3 separate regions of the Homo sapiens genome follow, and all the other regions are linked to region 1. Evidence: promoter capture Hi-C in 16 types of primary human blood cells and fetal thymus (Javierre and others, 2016). All regions are on one chromosome and are shown on one strand. Each heading gives the region's core, a stretch centred on a gene start or on the middle of the fragment in contact. The rest is flanking DNA. Distances are from core to core; before and after follow the strand shown. Region 1 holds the start of SLC9A6 (solute carrier family 9 member A6). Region 2 has its middle 56 kb from the start of RBMX. Region 3 has its middle 11 kb from the start of RTL8A.

Region 1 (3,130 bases), core at 377-2,876:
GCTATCCTTGAGAGATGCACATTACAGAAGTCTGGATTTACTAGGGGGCGGGGGTTTGCATGGAGCAATGTCTTTTGTGCCAAAGCTTCATCTACCTATCTGCAAGTCTGAGAGACAAACCTCAACAAGCTCATCGGTTTAACTGCTCCAAATGAAGATAATCTTCACACATGTACTGCACAGAAAGAATTGTTTGTCCGCCCTCATCTCTTTAGCAATACCCGCACAGATTAATACAGTCGGCAATATGTATCTTTTCTCCTCTTGAGGCCCCAGCACAGCTCAAAATGCCTCTGAGCCCACACTTTGATTTACCCCTTCTCGCCTTGTCACCAAAATAATAATAATAATAATAATAATAAACCTCAGAAAGCAGACTGAGACACAAGAATCGAAGCCATTTATTCTACAATCGGTCAATAACCTCATGCCAACAGCAAGTCACCCATACTGCATATGCATGGTGTTTGTAATTACTGTTTGTCTGAACTGTCCTGATCATCGTATAGTACACTATACTTCTGGAAGGACCTTAACTCTTCCTCGTCCTCACTTTTGTATGCCTGAATTGGAAGGGTCAACCACAGGTATCCATATCAGATATTAGAGGCATAGTACAATAAATGGGATGTCATTAAAAATGCCCTAAGCCTTCTGTAGCCTATTTCACGTTCGGGTTTTTTTTTTCGGACTCCACAAGAATAAGATTTTCCTTTGCAACCTCGAAAGGACAGGGCGTAGCAGGAGCTAGGTGTTGAGTAAAGGTCGACTCTGGCTCCAAAAGAACGCCAGATTCTGGGCAGTAGAGATACTACTGCAGTTTCAATGAACCTTAAACAAACTGACACCCCAGAGAAATGGATCGCAATGGTGTCTCCCCTCCCCCAGCCCCCAGCCCAATTCCAGACACCGCGCCCACTCGTTTTCCATCCTCAGCCCCGGGTCCCGAGCTTGGTAGGCAGGGAAAGGGTGGGGGGCTGGGGGTGCGGAGGAAAAAGGGGGTGGGGTCGGAAGCGAAAAAGGTGTGGAGAGGCAGATAAAATGGGGCGCGAGGCTGAAGAGGAAAGGGGGTGAGGCAGAGAAACGCGGGGTAGGGGGAAGGCGAGGCAGAAAATGGAAGGAATTAGAAGGGGAGCCGAACGTAGGCCGAGCAGGGCCAGCAGAGGAGGCGAAGCAGCCGGCGGGCAGAGAAAGGGGCAGCGCCAAGGGGCTGACAAGGGTTGAGGAACTTGCCATAAATCATAGCCAGGCCGGTTTCGTGCAGGAAGCGGGCCCGGCGGTGCTTGAAGAGCCAGATTGTGAGAATGGTGAGGGTGAGCAGCAGGATGAAGATGAGCAGGTTGGCGCTGTCCTGCCGGTGGCTCTCCTCGGCTTGCTTCTCGGACACGATCTCCTCGTCCATGGCTCTAGCCTCTCCGCCGCCGCCGTCCGAAGCCCCTGCCCAGTCAAAGACGCCCACTGCGAGGAGCAACCAAAGGGGCCGCATGAGCCTGCGGGCTCGGGGACTGCTGCCGACGCCACGGCGGAGGGGTGCCCGCCGCCAGCCGCGCCGAGCCATGTCTCCCCCCGCCTCCCGCCCCTACCTCACCGGCGGCCGCCCGCGGTCGGACCACTCCCCGAGGGCTCACGGGAAAGGGGCGGGGCCCGGGGGTAGCCGTCGGAGCGCGCGCCGCCGCCGCCGCTCTTAAAGGGGCCGCGGCATCCCAAGCTCGCTCTGCCAGGTTCCTTTGCCCCTCTGTCCCAGGTCACACGCACCCACAGGCGCTGCCGGGAATGAAAGGCCGTCTAAACTAGCCCACTGCCTTTGGCTAAAGAAACATCGGCTCAGTGTAACCAAGCAGAGGCAGACTGCGCTTTCTACTTTGATCCTATTCTCAGAGCTCTCAGGGGAATTGATCTTTCATAGGAATTGATCTTTCATAACCCATCTCAATATCGTCCCCCAGTGTCTCTTAACAGGATAAGTTGTCCCCTTGGGAGGAGCCTCAATCTCCATCTCTGTAATTTAAATTTAAATCGGATTCTCCTTGTATTGTCCTCATCGGGAAAGAAAAAAAAAAAAACACAAAAAAACACCACACACACACAGAGCACTGTAGCAGTTCATAAAACAATCGACTCAAAGGTATGGATTATGTGTGTGTCTGTGTAGTCGGTTTTCTTTACATGTAAACATCTGATATAAGTCATCTCTCACGCTAGGAATCTGTACACAGAAACTCATCAACCTTACAGCAAAGATTGGATCGGTTTGTGCTTAGATTTCCCAATGCTCGTAAACACTTCCCTCCCGAAGAAAAAATCTTGGGTGGTGTGGTGGATTTCTCCTTCTCCTCTTGCTCCTTTTTACTGCTGTTTTAAAGCAAATGTCCCCAGCTCCGAAGTCACCCTTGACCCCTATCTCTCATCTCTCCTCTTTAGTATTCCTCAGGACAGTATTTTTTTTCTGTTCTCAGCCTGTCCAACCTCTCTCACCAGAATTTTCACAGTTCTCACCTCCATACTGGAGCTTTGTCTTTTGAGAACAGTGACTTCCTATTTTTTCTGTATTTCTCCGATCGCTCCTTAGTTTGTGTGGGCTCTTTGTTTTCTCAAGACTTTGATTTCAACATGAATGATCTACAAGTCTCAAGCCCTGGCCTGCTGCCCCAACTTCAGGCCTCTACCTGTTGGATTCTGAGCATACCCTGTTGAGGCTCCTACCACCCTCAAAACTAAAAATATTTTGAAATGAGCTCATTTGAAATGAGTTCCCCCTGCAAGTACAAATTCCTTCTCAAATTCTTCATACCATCAGTGGTACCACTGTCAGTTCAATTCCTATCATTCTGCCTGGAACTCATGATTCTCAAATGGTTCTTTCCATCTCATGGCCATATAACCTCCTTGCTAAAACAAGTAATACTCAGGCAACTCCAAGCTGCCCCTGTGTGTATTCACCCTCACTAACCAGCTCTCTAAGCTCTCAGGATGATGAGCTAAACAAAAAAAGCACTCAAACGATGTCCAATTCCACTTTCTGTCCCTGTCAGGTCAGGAACTGTCCCAAATCAGAGCCAGTGACTGTGTGCCCATTCTCTGCTATTAGTACTTGGGTCTGTGTCTTCCCAAGAAACCTCATGGCTGCCTG
Region 2 (3,130 bases), core at 223-2,722, 950 kb before region 1:
ATAGGAAACCTTCAATACATGTTAACTAATATGTCACCCAGGCCTTCAATCCTTAGAAAATGAGTACAGCTGAGTGCGGTGGCTCATGCCTGTAATCCCAGCACTTTGGGAGACCGAGGAGTTCGAGACCAGCAAAACACTGTCTCTACTAAAAAATAAAAATAATAATAATAATACGAAAATTCGCTGGGTGCAGTGGCTCATGCCTGTAATCCCAGCACTTTGGGAGACCGAGGTGGGCAGATCACTTGAGGTCAGGCGTTCAAGACCAGTCTGGCCAACATGGTGAAACCCCTTCTCTACTAAAAATATAAAAATGAGCTGGGCGCAGTGGCACGTGCCTGTAGTCCCAGCTACTCGGGAGGCTGAAGCTGGAGAATTTCTTGAACCCAGGAGGCGGAGGTTTCAGTGAGCCGAGATCGTGCCACTGCCCTCCAGCCTGGGCAACAAAAGACGACTCCATCTCAAAAAAAAAAAAAAAGTACAAACGAGCCTTGACAATTACCACATTAAGTAATCTACAATATATACAGCTCTTGAGATTAAGAATTATGGCTCTGCAAATCTCAGAATTTAGGGTGATGGCCCTGAAGGAATTTTGGAGATCATTTAATACAGTAATGATGAAGAAGGGAAGAGTGATCATGTGAGAGTGTGCCCCAATCAGCTTGAGGTGGGAAGTAAATACTCCTCACTAAAGCACTATGTGTAACTGCTAAAAACTAGAAACAACCAACAATCTCTATCAATCCAGTTAAATAAATTATAGTAAAACCACACAGAGAAATAAAATACAGCTAGTAGATTTGCATACGCTAGTAAGAAAGTATATCCATACTACTAGAGAGAAAAAGCACAGCATAGTGGTTAGGGATGTAGATCCATAGTCAACCTACATATATTCGGCTGGGCAGTGGCTCACAGCTGTAATCCCAGCACTTTGGGAGGCCGAGGGGGGCAGATCACACGAGGTCAGGAGTTTGAGACCAGCCTGGCCAACATGGCAAAACCTTCTCTCCAATAAAAATATAAAAAGTAGTCGGGCGTGGTGGCATGCACCTGTAATCCCAGCTACTCAGAAGGCTGAGACAGGAGAATTGCTTAAACCTAGGAAGCAGAGGTTGCAGTGAGCCGAGATCGCGCCACTGCACTCCAACCTGGGTGACAGAGCAAGACTCCGTCTCAATTTTTAAAAAAAAAGCCAGGTGTGGTGGCTCACGCCCATAATCCCAGCATGTTAGGAGGCTGAGGCGGGCGGATCACAAGGTCAGGAGTTTGAGACAAGCCTGGCCAATATTGTGAAACCCTATCTCTACTAAAAATACAAAATAATAAGCCAAGCATGGTGGCACATGCCTGTAATCCTAGCTACTCGGGAGGCTGAGGCAGAAGAATTGCTTGAACCCGGGAGGCAGAGGTTGCAGTGAGTGAGATCATGCCACTGCACTCCAGCCTGGGTGACAAGAGTGAGACTAGGTCTCAAAAAAAAAAAAACAAGAAAAAAATAAAACTACCTATATTCAAAGCTCAGATATGTTCTGTACTAGCTTGTGTGATCTTTGCCATGTTGTAACCTCTTAGTGTATCAGTTTCTGTACCTGTAATGTAAAGATGGTAACAGTACCCACAGGATGCTGTGAGGATTAAATCAACTCAGGCAAAGTATATCAACCACTGCTCGGCATAAACTAAGTACTCAATGTAATAGGTAAAGGTCCTTCAGTATCTGGATCCCACCTATCTCTCCAGACTCATCACACGCGACAGCCTCTACTTCTAACCTGCTAAATTACTAAAGAGAATTCTGTACTGTGTTCTCACAGCACTCAGCTCATATCTCTATTGTCACTTACATCAAATTGTAGTTGGTGTATTTACACATTTATATCCCCTAGTAAATTGTGTTCCCCAGTACATCACAAAATTAAGAACTCTGTCTGGGTCATTCTAAGGAAGGAGACCACTACTACTCCTGCTGCCCTCCTCCCCCTACCTTGCCTAGTTCACAAGACAGGAGAAAAGACAAAGCAAAAAGTTGGAAAGAAACAAAAGTAAGATAAATAGCCAGACAACCTTGGCACCACTACCCGGCCCTAGGAGTTAAAAAAGTAATAATAACAACATCAACCCCTGACCTAAACTACTTGTGTTATCTGTAAATTCCAGACATTGTATGAAAAAGTATTGCAAAACTTTCTGTTCTGTTAGCTGATGCATGTATCCCCCAGTCACGTTCCCCACACTTGCTCAATTTATCATGACCTTTTCATGTGGACCTCTTAAGAGTTGTAAGCCTTTAAAAAGGCCAAGAATTTCTTTTTCAGGGAGCTTGGCTCTTAAGACACAAGTCTGCTGATGCTCCTGGCTGAATAAACCTCTTCCTTCTTTAATCTGATGTCTGAGGAGTTTTGTCTGCAGCTTGTCCTGCTACATTTCTTGGTTCCCTGACCGGGAAGCGAGGTGATTAATGGACGGTCGACACAGCCCCTTAGGCAGCTTATGCCTGCCCTGTAGAGCATCCCTGTGGGGGACTCCGGCCAGCTTGAGCAATGTAGATCCTGATGAGCGCTCCCAGGCAGGCATTTGCCCCGGTACAACGCCTCATCAGAGCGGTGCATGGCAAGCCCACATGAAGGACCAATGCAGTGGCTGAACACTGGGAAGGAACTGGCACTTTAAGTCTGGACATCTGAAACTTGGTAAGACTGGTCTTTGGAACTTGCCCACTCCATTTGAGTGGAAGCATGGCATGATCACCCACGGCGTGCCTGTACCGGCACTTTGGGTTTTGTTTTTGACTTGACTTGCATTGCTTGATAATTTGGTTTTAGTTTTGATTTTGACTTGACTTGAATTGCTTGATAAACAGGCATGCCTTTATTGGCACTTTGGTTTTGGTTCTGATTTTGACTTGGCTTAAATTGCTTGACGAACAGAGGTGCCTTTAACGACACTTTGGTTTTAGTTTTGATTTTGATTTAGTGTGAAATAGACGAGTGAGTGACCTTTTACCCTTTCCTTCTTGTAGTGTGAATGTTGTTTTGTCTCGAGAGAAAAATAGGTCAGACACAAAGTAAGCCCACTCTGCTAGAAACTGTGTTAAAAAAAATTCCAAGAAAAGAAAAATAAA
Region 3 (3,130 bases), core at 278-2,777, 920 kb after region 1:
TCCAGCAACAGGGTAGCAAGATTTAAAACAACATATTTTAAAAGTAACATCTGCGGTGTCACATAGAAGAACCTGACATTTAAGTAATTGAACCACTGTTAGACATTGGTGTCCTTTTGCCTCTAGGATCCCCTGTATTTGATGGGGGCAGGTCATTACATCTAATTGTTGTCCCAAGGTAAACTTACTGACTTCTACCAATAGAGTGGTGGTGGCCACAGCTCAAAAGCATCCTGGCCACCCAGCCACCACTTGGTCTAGCTGTTTAGAAAAGTAAGCCACTGGTATAGGGCTATTCACGAGACTTTGAGTTAGAACACCCAAAGCTGTCCCTTGTTTTTCAGCCACATATAGGGTGAAAGGTTTTTCTAAGTTTGGGAGTCACAAAGCAGGGGCTGTTCCCAATTTTTCTTTTAGGGTTAAGAATGCCTGTTGGCAGGTTCCATCCCAATTCAAAGGCTCATGATCACTCTCTTTTAGAGCTTCATAGAGTGGTTTTGCTATGAGCCCAAACCTGGGACTCCAAATCCAGAAGAATCTGGCCATTCCCAGAAAGATTCTTAATTGTTTCTTAGTCTGAGGGGGCTGGAGTGCCAAGATGGTCTCTTTTTACTCCTGGGCCAGGGTGTTTGCCCCAGGAGTTAACACATACTCCAAATATTTAACCTTTTGTGCAGAAATTTGGGCTTTATTGTAGGAATACCCAATAACCTCATCTTCTCAAAAAAATTAAGAATCTGGATTGTGTTCCTGTCACAGCCTTCCCTGGTTGGGCTGGAAATTAATAGATCATCCATATATTGCTAAAGAGACCCATTATTTAACTAGAGTTTCCTTAATTCTTTTGCCAATGTATTGACAAAGAAATGGGGACTGTCCCTAAAACCTTGAGGAAGAACAGCCCACGTAAGATGAGATGCAGCATGAATGTCTGGATCAGTCCATTCAAAAGCAAAGATATACTGGGTGTCCACGTGTAAAGGTATACAAAAGAAAGCATCCTTTAAGCCTAATACCATGAACTATTAACATCTTCAGGGACTTGGGTCAATATTGTGTATGAATTAGTAACTATTCAGTGGACTGGGACTATTGCCTCATTAACTGCCCTCAGATTCTGAACAAATCTGTATTCCCCATTCAGTTTCTTCACAACCAAAATGGAGGTGTTACGTAGGGACTGACGGGACTGTAGTAATCCATACTTTAGGAACTTCCTTATTAGGGGTTGAATGCCTCTCTGCTCTTCAGGTCTCAAGGTACGTTGTTTTTTGTATGGATACTTAACTCTGGGTTTCAAAATAACCTGGACTGGGAGTACATTAACATCTCTACCAAGAACTTTCATGTCCCAAACAGAGAGGTCTACTTGAGAAGTAAGATGCAGTGAAAGAGAGGTCTTTTATTTATCTGTGTTAAGGCATGTACTTGGAGCTAGAAGAAGTGTCTTTCCCTGGCCTATTGCCTTCTCATAAGGCTCTCCAAATTGAGCTGTGGCCTGTAATTGGGAAAGTTAGTCTCTTCCCAGTAAAGGAATAGGGCACTCAGACATAAGCAGAAAGATATGGGAAAACACATGATTCCCCACAGTGTAACTGAGGGGGTGGGTGAATCACCTAACTTTTGGCTGGCCATCAATCTACATTATGGTACAAGAGTGGGAAAACAATGGCCCTGAGAAATAGGTTGAAACTGAGAAGTCTGCTCCCATGTCCACCAAAAACTCATTATTTTTGCCTGCCACATCAAGAGTTACCCAAAGCTCCTCTATGGAGATAGTAAGGTGTCCATTGGAAACCATAAGAGACCTCAGGCCCTGTCAGTCCTCTGTTCTCTCAGCCATTATGGGTCTGAGTGGTTCAGACTCTCTTTCAAGCCTGGGGCAGTCCTTCCTTCAGTGTTCCTCTTGCTTATAGGCACATTGATTTTGGCCCAGGGGCCAAGAAGTCAGAGGCTTTCATCTGGGCATCCCAACCACGACTCTCGTAACACTTTCTTGACATTTGTAACCCTAAGGCAGTAAGGGGCTTAAGGCAGCCACGAATAATAGCACTTTTTAGCTATTACTTTTAGTTTTCACCTCTTTCTCCACCTTGTCCCTATTATTGTAAATTCCAAAGGCCATATTTAAAAGTTGGCTCATGGGGATTTGATGCTCTATTGCTGCCTTATGTAAATTCCTCCTAATGTCAGAGATAGTTTGAGTAATAAAATACATGACCAGGAGAGCTCACCTTTCCAGAGAGTCAGGATCTGCATTAGTATATTTCCTGAGGGCCTCCACTAAGTGGCCTTGAAATAAAGTGGCATTTTCATATTTTCCCTGAGTTACTTCTCTAACCTTGTCACAACTAACTGGTTTAACCACACACTTTTTCATACCTTCTACTAAACAAGTTAGCATGTAATTTCTGTGTTTGAGATCTTGGGAACCCCTCTGGGAATCCCATTGAGGGTGCAAATAAGGAACTGCCTCTCCCCCCACATTATAAATGGCATGGCCTTGGATATTATTGGCCACTCCATCTGAAAATTCATGGGTAATACCTAGAATCCTTTGTTTCTCCTCTATGTCTATGGTACAGCAAGTGGATAATAATAAGCACAAGTTATGCCAAGTTATTTCAGAGGACATGGTAAATGTATCAAACTCCTCTATAAACTTCCATGGATCCTCCAAAAACCAGCCAAATTTCTCCTTGCATAAAGCCAAATTTGATACAGTAAATGGCACATATACTCTGATTGTTCCCCCATCTCCATCAGCTACCCACAATGGACACAGTTTCACTTTTAGGGGCTGATACGGGGCCCTGCTCCTGGTAGTACTGGTTGGGCTTACATTCTCAGGTAACAGGGGTATACAACAGGACTAGTTGGATAAGGGGTAGGGGTGCCTGATGACCTTGGGGTGGAATCCTGTGCTGGAGAACTGGCAGAATTCCTCTCAGAACTGCAGGACTGAGGAGGCTCCAAGGGGGGCATGGACCTCCCAGTGGGAGCAGCTAGGAGGGGGTCACCTATGATACCTGGCACAGCTTCTTGGTGCCTGGAAGTAACATGAGTCTGATACATTCTACAGCTATCCCTTAGGTCAGGATCCTGGTAGAGGGCATATAAAAGCCTACAC

Evidence for each region. Contacts are between HindIII fragments. The CHiCAGO score rates a contact against its expected background, and 5 or more counts as called.
Region 2: a contact is called between a fragment that was not itself captured here and the fragment with the promoter of SLC9A6 in region 1, in 1 of 17 cell types (activated CD4 T cells). The highest score is 5.1, in activated CD4 T cells.
Region 3: a contact is called between a fragment that was not itself captured here and the fragment with the promoter of SLC9A6 in region 1, in 1 of 17 cell types (neutrophils). The highest score is 5.0, in neutrophils.

What each region holds. Positions count from the first base shown.
Region 1 is chrX:135,983,931-135,987,060 of GRCh38, reverse strand. It overlaps SLC9A6 (solute carrier family 9 member A6), which reads right to left and starts at 1,626. Exons shown (of 18, transcript NM_001379110.1): 1 at 1,584-1,626; 2 at 1,234-1,458. The coding sequence starts at 1,402. RefSeq lists an enhancer at 1,226-1,345 and a silencer at 1,496-1,735. The HindIII fragment of the contact is 4,728 bases long and covers 88-3,130 here.
Region 2 is chrX:136,935,471-136,938,600 of GRCh38, reverse strand. No RefSeq gene overlaps it. Among named protein-coding and RNA genes, the nearest start is that of RBMX, 56 kb to the right of the region's middle. RefSeq lists enhancers at 2,724-2,873, 2,954-3,053. The HindIII fragment of the contact is 9,577 bases long and covers 1-3,130 here.
Region 3 is chrX:135,061,262-135,064,391 of GRCh38, reverse strand. No RefSeq gene overlaps it. Among named protein-coding and RNA genes, the nearest start is that of RTL8A, 11 kb to the right of the region's middle. The HindIII fragment of the contact is 5,064 bases long and covers 1-3,130 here.